Regions from separate parts of the Homo sapiens genome. Here region 2 is linked to region 1. Evidence: promoter capture Hi-C in 16 types of primary human blood cells and fetal thymus (Javierre and others, 2016). All regions are on one chromosome and are shown on one strand. Each heading gives the region's core, a stretch centred on a gene start or on the middle of the fragment in contact. The rest is flanking DNA. Distances are from core to core; before and after follow the strand shown. Region 1 holds the start of LINC01431 (long intergenic non-protein coding RNA 1431). Region 2 holds the start of NAA20 (N-alpha-acetyltransferase 20, NatB catalytic subunit).

Region 1 (4,335 bases), core at 1,470-3,969:
TTATCTCATATCATAAAGATACAAGTTTCTTTTTCCTCTAGATAAAGCCAATTGGCTAACACAGAGGATCATCCCAAATATCAGGTTAGATGAACTGTGTGTGATGAAAAATGCTGCCAAGTTCCCTTGAGAGCTAGTTATTGTTTATCTTGAAAATGTGTGTAATAGATTGCTTGGCTGCACAAAAGAGTGAGATTTCGTTCTGTCTTTGCAGTCTCTTAATGGATTGCCTGTGATGGGTATCACATTCTAGTTTAATGCTTATTCAATTACAAAGTGTTTTCTTTCTCCACTACCTTTCTGAAGAGGGTTGGGAGATTGTACTTTTAATTATATTTCCTGAACAGGAGCCAGCTTCCCACACATAGTAGGTGCTCAATAAATATTTGAAGAATGAATGAGTGACAGAAATCTTTCTTAGGCCGACTCTCTATATTTGCATTCCATGATTTGAAGAAATTGGAATGAACGCAGTTTTCACCCATGGCTCCAGCAGGCCCAGAATCGTGTTTTATGATTTTGTTTTGCATTACAAAAAGGTGGTCAGGCACGGTGGCTCACGCCTGTAATCCCAGCACTTTGGGAGGCCGAGGCGGGCCGATCACTTGAGGTCAGGAGTTGAAGACCAGCCTGGCCAACATGGTGAAACCCCGTCTCTGCTAAAATACAAAAATTAGGCCAGGTGCGGTGGCTCACACCTGTAATTCTAGCACTTTGGGAGGCTGAAGTGGGCGGATCACCTGAGGTCAGGAGTTCAAGACCAGCCTGGACAACATGGTGAAACCCTTTCCCTGCTAATAATACAAAAATTAGCTGGGCGAGGTGGTACATGCCTTTAATCCCAGCTATTCAGGAGACTGAGGCAGGAGAATCGCTTGAACATGGGAGGCAGAGGTTGCAGTGAGCGGAGATTGCACCACTGCATTCCAGCCTGGGCAACAGAGGAAAACTCTGTCTCAAAAAAACAAAACCAAATTAGCCGGGAGTGGTGACAGGCACTTGTAATCCCAGATGCTCAGGAGGCTGAGGCAGGAGAATCACTTGAACCCAGGAGATGGAGGTTGCAGTGAGCTTCGATCATGCCATTGCACTCCAGCCTGGGCAATAGAATGAGACTCCGTCTCCGATTATGTTAGCTAGCATAACATAATGCTAGCTTATCCATTCAATACTGAAAGGATTGCTTTAGTTGAGTGTCTTAATAGCTTTAAAAATAGAGGTCATAAGACTCACAGACTCTTTGTGGCAATACTAAATGATAAAGAATGAAGGGCCATGCCTGGCAAGGGTTGTCATGCACCTCTACACTTCAAGAAGAAACTATGCCTTAACTGCCACAAGGTTTTTATTCTCTGGCAGCCAAACAAGCACTGGCCTCTAGATAAGCAATATTCAAACAATGTGCTTTTCATCCACCTCCACATGCTGACTGACACGCCCCCTGCCCCAGCCCCACCACTTCCACAAATAATTACTGCTTTGATTGGACCAGAGACTGACTGCAGTAACTTTTTCCTGATGGGAAACAACCGAACAGGGGCTGATTCTGGCGGTTTACAGAGGCTGCACACAAGTGCATCGGTGTCCTGAAAAGATCTTTCAACTTATAGGGTCTAAATGTAATACATGAATACCTGTAAATGCTAAGAGTCCACCCCAAAGTAAACATAGGTCACCTGTAACATGCACGTTTGTCCAGTAAGCATGGGTCAGGACCCGTTTCATGAATATTCATAGCTCTTCCTGTGGCCTGTTCATATGTGTACTTGGCTAAGTCCTTCAGCTTAAATTCCTGTCTTAGGCCCCCTTCCCTCCAGCTGCCTGCCTTTTGAGCTTCTGCCAGAAGCTATGCTTCCCAGCCTGTCAGAAGGGCCACCTTGCAGGTTATCACCGTTTAAAGAAATAAAGCTCTCCTTTCTATGTTTGTGATCTTTTTTTTAAATAATACAAATAGACAATTCACTTGACAGTGTGAATGGCATACTTCACTGACAATGGAATACTATAAAAACAATAATAAACCACTGATAAACATCAACCTGACAAAGTTAAATATAGTGTTTCATGCTGTAGAACTCTGCACGAGAAAAGTACACGGGAGTGAACAATTGTTACGTAAGGGCGTTCACTGCAGTGCACTTACATTAGTGAAACTTTGGAAACAATCTCACCTATAAGGAGATGGCCGAAGAATTTGATATATCCAAGCACTGGATTATTATGCCGGTCATTAAAACAATGTTTAAAAATATGTGTAATAGCTTGGGGAAATGCTCACCATGTTATAATGAGTAAAGACGGTACACTATTTTACATAGGGTCTGATGTGATTTGAAAACAAATCTATAGAAATAGACTGGAAAGAAATGTATCAAATTCTAAACTGCACAAGGAAGAACACTGACGCACGCGCAACGCCGGCGCCCTGCCCACTAGGCGCCCTCGCTGCCCCTCACCTGCACAGCCGGCGCACGCCCACAGGCTCGTGAGGGAGCGGCCGGTGGGTCAGGCTGGGCGGCACTCCTCGCCCATTGGCTGTCCCGGAGTCCGGCCCCGCCTCTCCCCGCCTTCTGGAGCCGCTGGTATAGCTCCTTCCAGGGCTCCTTGGAGACGGAGGGCGGGGCTAGGGCGCCGGAGTCACGTGGTCGCGCCACCGCGCGATTACTAGCTGTCAAAAGAGTCCTCAGAAGTGTCCTGAGCGGTCGCAGGGTAATGACGTCGGCCGTATCGGGGATGCTGGAACCTGCGGTTGAGTGAGAAACCGGCGCCACCGCCTGCGTCTTGGTCTCGGGCTGGTGGCCAGCGGGGTCTGGGCGTGGTTTTACCCAGCTCCTTTGCGAAGCTGCTGTCCTTTCCTCAACGTTACCACCCGGCTGGGCAGCCTACCCTCGGTCAGTACGTCCTGGCAAGAGCGCTTCGGGCGTGGCGTTCGTGTCGCGGGGGCCTCGGCTCAGAAGCGAGGGAAGAGCAGCCCTCAGAGGAGCGGCGACCGCGCTTACCGGGAGCCCGGGTTGGGAGAGGGCTCCCCAGGAGGGGTGTGAGCTCCGAACGAGAAAGAACGCCACCGCCTCGTGGGGTCTCTTCCTAATGTGCAGATTCCAAATCTCTACAATGCTGCAAAAGAGGTTACAGTCCACATCAAATTAAGCATGCCCTAAAGGGCAGCTGGGGTTCAGTTCAAGAGTTGAGTTTTAACACACACCTTTACCTGCCTTAAAATTGGGCAAGGTATCACAACGTTAAACCATTTCTCACAAGGCTCGTTGGTGATGTTTAAGATTTTTTGTTTGTTTGTTTGTTTTTTGTTACGGAGTCTCGCTCTGTCGCCCAGACTGGAATGCAGTGGCGCGATCTTGGCTGACTACAACCTCCGCCTCCTGGGTTCAAGCGATTGTCCTGCCTCAGCTTCCTGAGTAGCTGGGATTACAGGCGCCTGCCACCACGCCCAGCTAATTTTTCTATTTTTAGTAGAAACGGGGTTTCGCCTTGTTGGCCAGGCTGGTCTTAAGTTTTGCATCCTGGCTCCCTCCTCTTACCTAGTCCCAGCCTCTTGTCTACAGGACAAAGCAACTTTCTGCAGTTTTCTGTTTGCTCTTTAGAGAGACGGGGCCCTAATTTGGCAAAGTGGTAGGGGAGACAGGGCTGGTGTTTAAGGTCGACCAAAGCAACATCTAAATCTCTGCTCTTCCCCCAAATTGTCCAAATTAGCAGCAACAGGTGTGCACCTTCCAAGCTTGCAACAGACCACATTCAGAAGCTTGATTTCTTGTTGTTCTGGGAATATCTGGATCAGAGGTAACATGGTTCACTAGGACTCCTCAGCTTCACCCAGTGTCCATTTCACCTCCCCCGGCCTTCCAATGTCTCTTCTTGCAGATTTCTCCAAGCCACTCTCCCCGTCATCTCCTCCACCCCCAGGACCCAACTCCTGCCCCTCCCACCCTAGCCCCTGTTCTCCCTGCCCACCTCCTACCCCACTGGAGTGGCCTTTCATCAAACCTAAACCAAAGAAACCAACAGACCTTGCTGTCACCACTACTCCGGGACCTGGAAGTTAAAGCGAGGGAGAGACGGTGAAACACAGAAAGCAGAACGCCTTCTGTTCTTCCACAACACAGGGTTTGTGGACGTGGCCACTATAAGAACTCGCACTGCGTGCTGATTATACTCCTCAGCACAATTCATTTCTTAAACTTTTTAGAATAATTTAAAATTTACAAAAAGTTGCAAAAATAAAAACCAGTAAACTTTTCACCTTCATCTGCCTTATAATTAAGGCAGCGGGCAGCGCGCTGGACAGAACGGGAGGGGCTTGCGCTTTCCGCCGGTGGGAAA
Region 2 (4,072 bases), core at 1,087-3,586, 3.3 Mb after region 1:
CAGGAGGATTGCCTGGGCCTGGGAGCTTGAGACTAAAGCGACCTAGGATTGTGCCACTGCACTCCTGTCTGGGCAACAGAGCGAGACCCTGTCTCAAAAAATAAAAGAAAATGGGGAATAAGTGGAGTTCCCCTACTGGCACCTTCTGAAGAGGCCACATGATTCTCTGAAATCTAATATTTTCTTGCAAGTGTTCCTGTGTATTTTCTTTCTATTCATTTCCATGTAAAACTGTTGTCCTTTCCTAGATCTTCAGTTAAAACTGATTCTCCATGAGGCTCTGCCTTTTCTTGAAGCTTCAAGGCACCCTGTCACCTCCCATGCTGCACCTCCCAAACTGAAGCCTCTGTCAAGTCATCGTCTCTGGGCCACTGCCAAGGCCTCCTGAATGGCTTACCTGCCCAGTTTACCTGCTGTCATCACATGACAGCCCACAGAGCTCAGTGGTTAAGAATTTGAATCCATCACCTGGATTCTACAGTGAACACTTTGCTACACTGGCTTCATCATTTCTCTCTGCCCACCTATCAATCCTAGATCCACTTTTAAAAACAACAGGGCAGTAAGTGAAAACGAAAAACCAAGTGGTTCCGATTCAAGGGTCAGGAGGATAGAAAGGACTATGGGATGAGATGGCTGGGAACACTTTAAAGAGAGGGTGAGCCTCTCCAGAGGCTCCAGGTGGGTTAAGACCCACTCCAGAGCAGTGGATCGCAAACGGAATGTGCGTTTCTAACATGGTCCCCTGACCACAGGCACCAAGTCTTTCAGAACCACTGCTCCAGAGCCAATATCCTTGGATGAAGTTCCTCGCTTTACTCATTCTCACCTGGGCCAATTCACTTGTGCTTGCCATGCCTTGGTTTACTCATACACAAAATGGGGGTGACAGCACCTCAAAGAATCGTGAGGATTAACTGGATTATTACGTGGGCACTCAGAACAATGCAGGGAACAGTGAGTTCAACACAAGTCACCGTAGCTACCAGACTGGCCCAACAGAAAATTCTTTCCACAGGATCAAGTCTAAACCCCTCCTGTTTCACCCATTTCTTCCTGACTGCTCAGTGGCAGAAACCAGCCACTAGATTCGCACTGATCCCAGTTGTCTGACCGCACTTCAAGTTTCCCCATTTTCATGCCCCGCTCCTTCTCCGGAACTTCCGTCTTCCTCACTTACCAATGTGTTATCCATCTTCAAGGCTCACCCCCTCTTTGAAATGTTCCCAGCCATCTTATCCCATAGTTCTTTCCATCTTCCTGACACTTGAATCGGAACCACTTTGTCCTTAGTTTTCACATACCGCCCTGTTGTTTTTTTAAAGTGGATCCAGGACTGATAGATGGGAAGGAAGGAGAGATACCAGCGTAGCAAAATGTTAACTGCAGAATCCAGGAAAAGTGTCTATAAAAGCACATGGTGAAATTCCTCCAACTTTTCTAAATGTGTGGGAATCTTCATAATAAAATGTTTTCTTAAAAAAAAAAAATTGGTACCTGCAAATCAGAGGTCTGGCCTTAACTCGAATCCAAAGAAACTGCATCCAGGGCTCTGGGCACAGCGAGCCTCCCCTAAGATCTGCCGTGACTCCTCACAGAGGAAAGGTGTGTACACCGGGGTGCGCAGCTACAGTAACTAAACTTGCAAACACTAACCATGACTGAGACAGCATCTGCTGCAGGGGACGCAGTGATCAGTGTCATTTCATTTGGATACAATTTAACCACGGCCACCAGGTGGGCTTCACGATGTACACATCCCAACAGCTGCTGACCAGCTTCCGATCCTCGCAAGCCCCCTCTGCGGCCTGGCCGTCGGCGGTGCCCTCTGCCCAGAAGAGGCGCGGCCCGGCCACGAACCAGCAAGCAGTAGGGCAGGGCGAGAAGCCCAGGTCGTGGGCTCCAGGCCGCGTCTCCAGCTCGCCCCATCACCCCAGCGCCTCCTGACAGCGACCACGAGCGGAGGCCCGAGCGCTGCCCCAGAACCTGCCAGCTCGCAGGGTCCAGAGACAAAGTTTGAGCACCTCGGCCAAGGTCGCCAAGGCCGGCGTGCGTCGACTCCAGGCCCACCTCTCCCTGGACCCTGTGGCCCCAGGGAGGCGCCCACGTTGGCCGGCGGGGGGTGGTTCTCGCGGGTCCCCGTCCGGGCTTGGGGTCCGGCCGGGAAGGCGCGGCTGGGGCCGGAGCTGGCGGGGCCGGGAAGCGAGGCCCGGCCAAGAGCGGCTGGCCCTAGGCGCGTGTCACTCACATGTTGTTGAAGCGGAACAGGTCGTCGCAGGTAAAGGCCCGTAGCGTGGTCATCGCGCCGCCGCCGCTTCCGAAGACCGTTCGCCAAGACCCCGCGCCCGCCCTGCCGGAAGTCTCCCGGAGCGTGGCCGCCGCGGAACCGAGCGAGACGGGGTACTGCTTCCGGGCTACGAGTTGCTGGGCAACGACAGCAGCAAAGCAGCTTCCTCTGGCGGCCGGCGGCGGGAATTGCCAGGTCGCTCCTGTAAGGCCTCCGGGGCTGTGGCTGCCCAGAACCTCGGAACCCCTCCCAGGCAGCGGCTGCAGAAAGCAGGCGGCGACACCTGGGAAGGAAAGAAGCTGCTGGTGATGCGGAAACCCAAGCAGAAGAGCGGAGTTCGCAGCCACCCGGTGCTGCAGAGTAAATGAGGAATGGGAGAATTTATGACCCAGAATCCCTTGTCCCAGTGTTGCGAGTTGCAGATGTCATCTTAAAATGTCAATACCACGTTTAAAAACAAAAAGAAGGCCGGGCGCGGTGGCTCACGCCTGTAATCCCAACACTGGGAGGCCAAGGCGGGCAGATCACTTGAGTTCAGCAGTTCGAGACCAACCTGGCCAACATGGCGAAACCCCCTCTCTACTAAAAAAAAAAAAAAAAGGAAAGAAATAAAAATTAGCTGGGCGTGGTGGCACGCGCCTCTAATCCCAGCTACTTGGAGGCTGAGGCAGGAGAATCGCTTGAACCCAGGAGGCGGAGGTTGCAGTGAGCCGAGATCTCGCCACTGCACTCCAGCCTGGGCGACAGAGCTAGACTTGGTCTCAAAAATAAATAATAAATAAATAAAAGCAAAACGAAATGTAAAATTGATTTTGATAGTACGCTTTATTTTACCCATTTATTTTTCCTATTTGGGAAAAATATTTTTCCCTGACCCCACTTTATTATACCCGAAATATCATTTCAACATGTAACCAATCAATACTCAACATGTAATCAATCAATAAAAAAAGGAATGTGATATGTTACATTCTTTTTTGCAAAGACTTTGAAATCCGGTGTGTATTTTACATTTGCAGTGCATTTCAATCTGAGAGAGCAGCTGTCATCGGAAATGCTTGTTCTCTATTTAGATTTCATCAATGTATGGTTAAAAAGCAGATTCTCATATCCAAGCGGTTCCAAATATACTGTTTTCAAATCGCTGAACCAAACATCAGTTTTTAAATTTAAAGTAGTTAAAATTAAAAGTTAAAAATTCCTTTATTCAGACCAGACACAGTGGCTCACACCTGTAATCCCAGCTACTTGGGAGGCTGAGGTGGGAGGATCATTTGAGCCCGGGAGGTAGAGGTTGCTCTGAGACATGATTGCACCACTGCACTCCAGCCTGGGTGACACACCAAGACCCTGTCTCAAAAAGATAAGATAAAGAGAGATAAAATACATAAAGCAAGCAGGAATGCTGAAATGTATTTACACATGAGTGTTAAACTGGTCAATATCCACAGAGCTGTAATCACTGTCTCTCCTGGGCACTGTATAACACTATGCATTTGTATTTTATGGACAAGAAAAATTTTCATTACTATCAATTTTCCTCAGCTTACAAATTTGTAAAATTTTGTATTGTCAAAGACAATAAAAAGCAGAGAAAACCTGGAAACGTGTACTAAACAGTAATCTTTTTCTGGCCATTTCAAAGTGTTTCATAATTTTTTGTGTGTGACATGAACTAATGTTGATTTGAATTTTGTTCCTTATGAAGTAGTGAAGGTTTTTATAATATTTTTGGCTCTGATTCATTGGTATTATAAACATTAGAAGTTTATAGCTACTTTATGT

What was found. Contacts are between HindIII fragments. The CHiCAGO score rates a contact against its expected background, and 5 or more counts as called.
Region 2: a contact is called between the fragment with the promoter of NAA20 here and the fragment with the promoter of LINC01431 in region 1, in 2 of 17 cell types (naive CD8 T cells and total CD4 T cells). The highest score is 7.7, in naive CD8 T cells.

What each region holds. Positions count from the first base shown.
Region 1 is chr20:23,356,511-23,360,845 of GRCh38, reverse strand. It overlaps LINC01431 (long intergenic non-protein coding RNA 1431), which reads left to right and starts at 2,719. Exons shown (of 3, transcript NR_109884.1): 1 at 2,719-2,891; 2 at 3,709-3,795; 3 at 3,877-4,252. RefSeq lists a silencer at 2,384-2,573 and enhancers at 2,624-3,013, 3,204-3,293. The HindIII fragment of the contact is 4,137 bases long and covers 1-3,735 here.
Region 2 is chr20:20,015,626-20,019,697 of GRCh38, reverse strand. NAA20 (N-alpha-acetyltransferase 20, NatB catalytic subunit) reads right to left here and starts at 2,336. Exons shown (of 6, transcript NM_016100.5): 1 at 2,249-2,336. The coding sequence starts at 2,301. RefSeq lists enhancers at 1-1,073, 1,535-2,035, 2,650-2,829 and silencers at 2,090-2,209, 2,260-2,329. The HindIII fragment of the contact is 8,583 bases long and covers 299-4,072 here.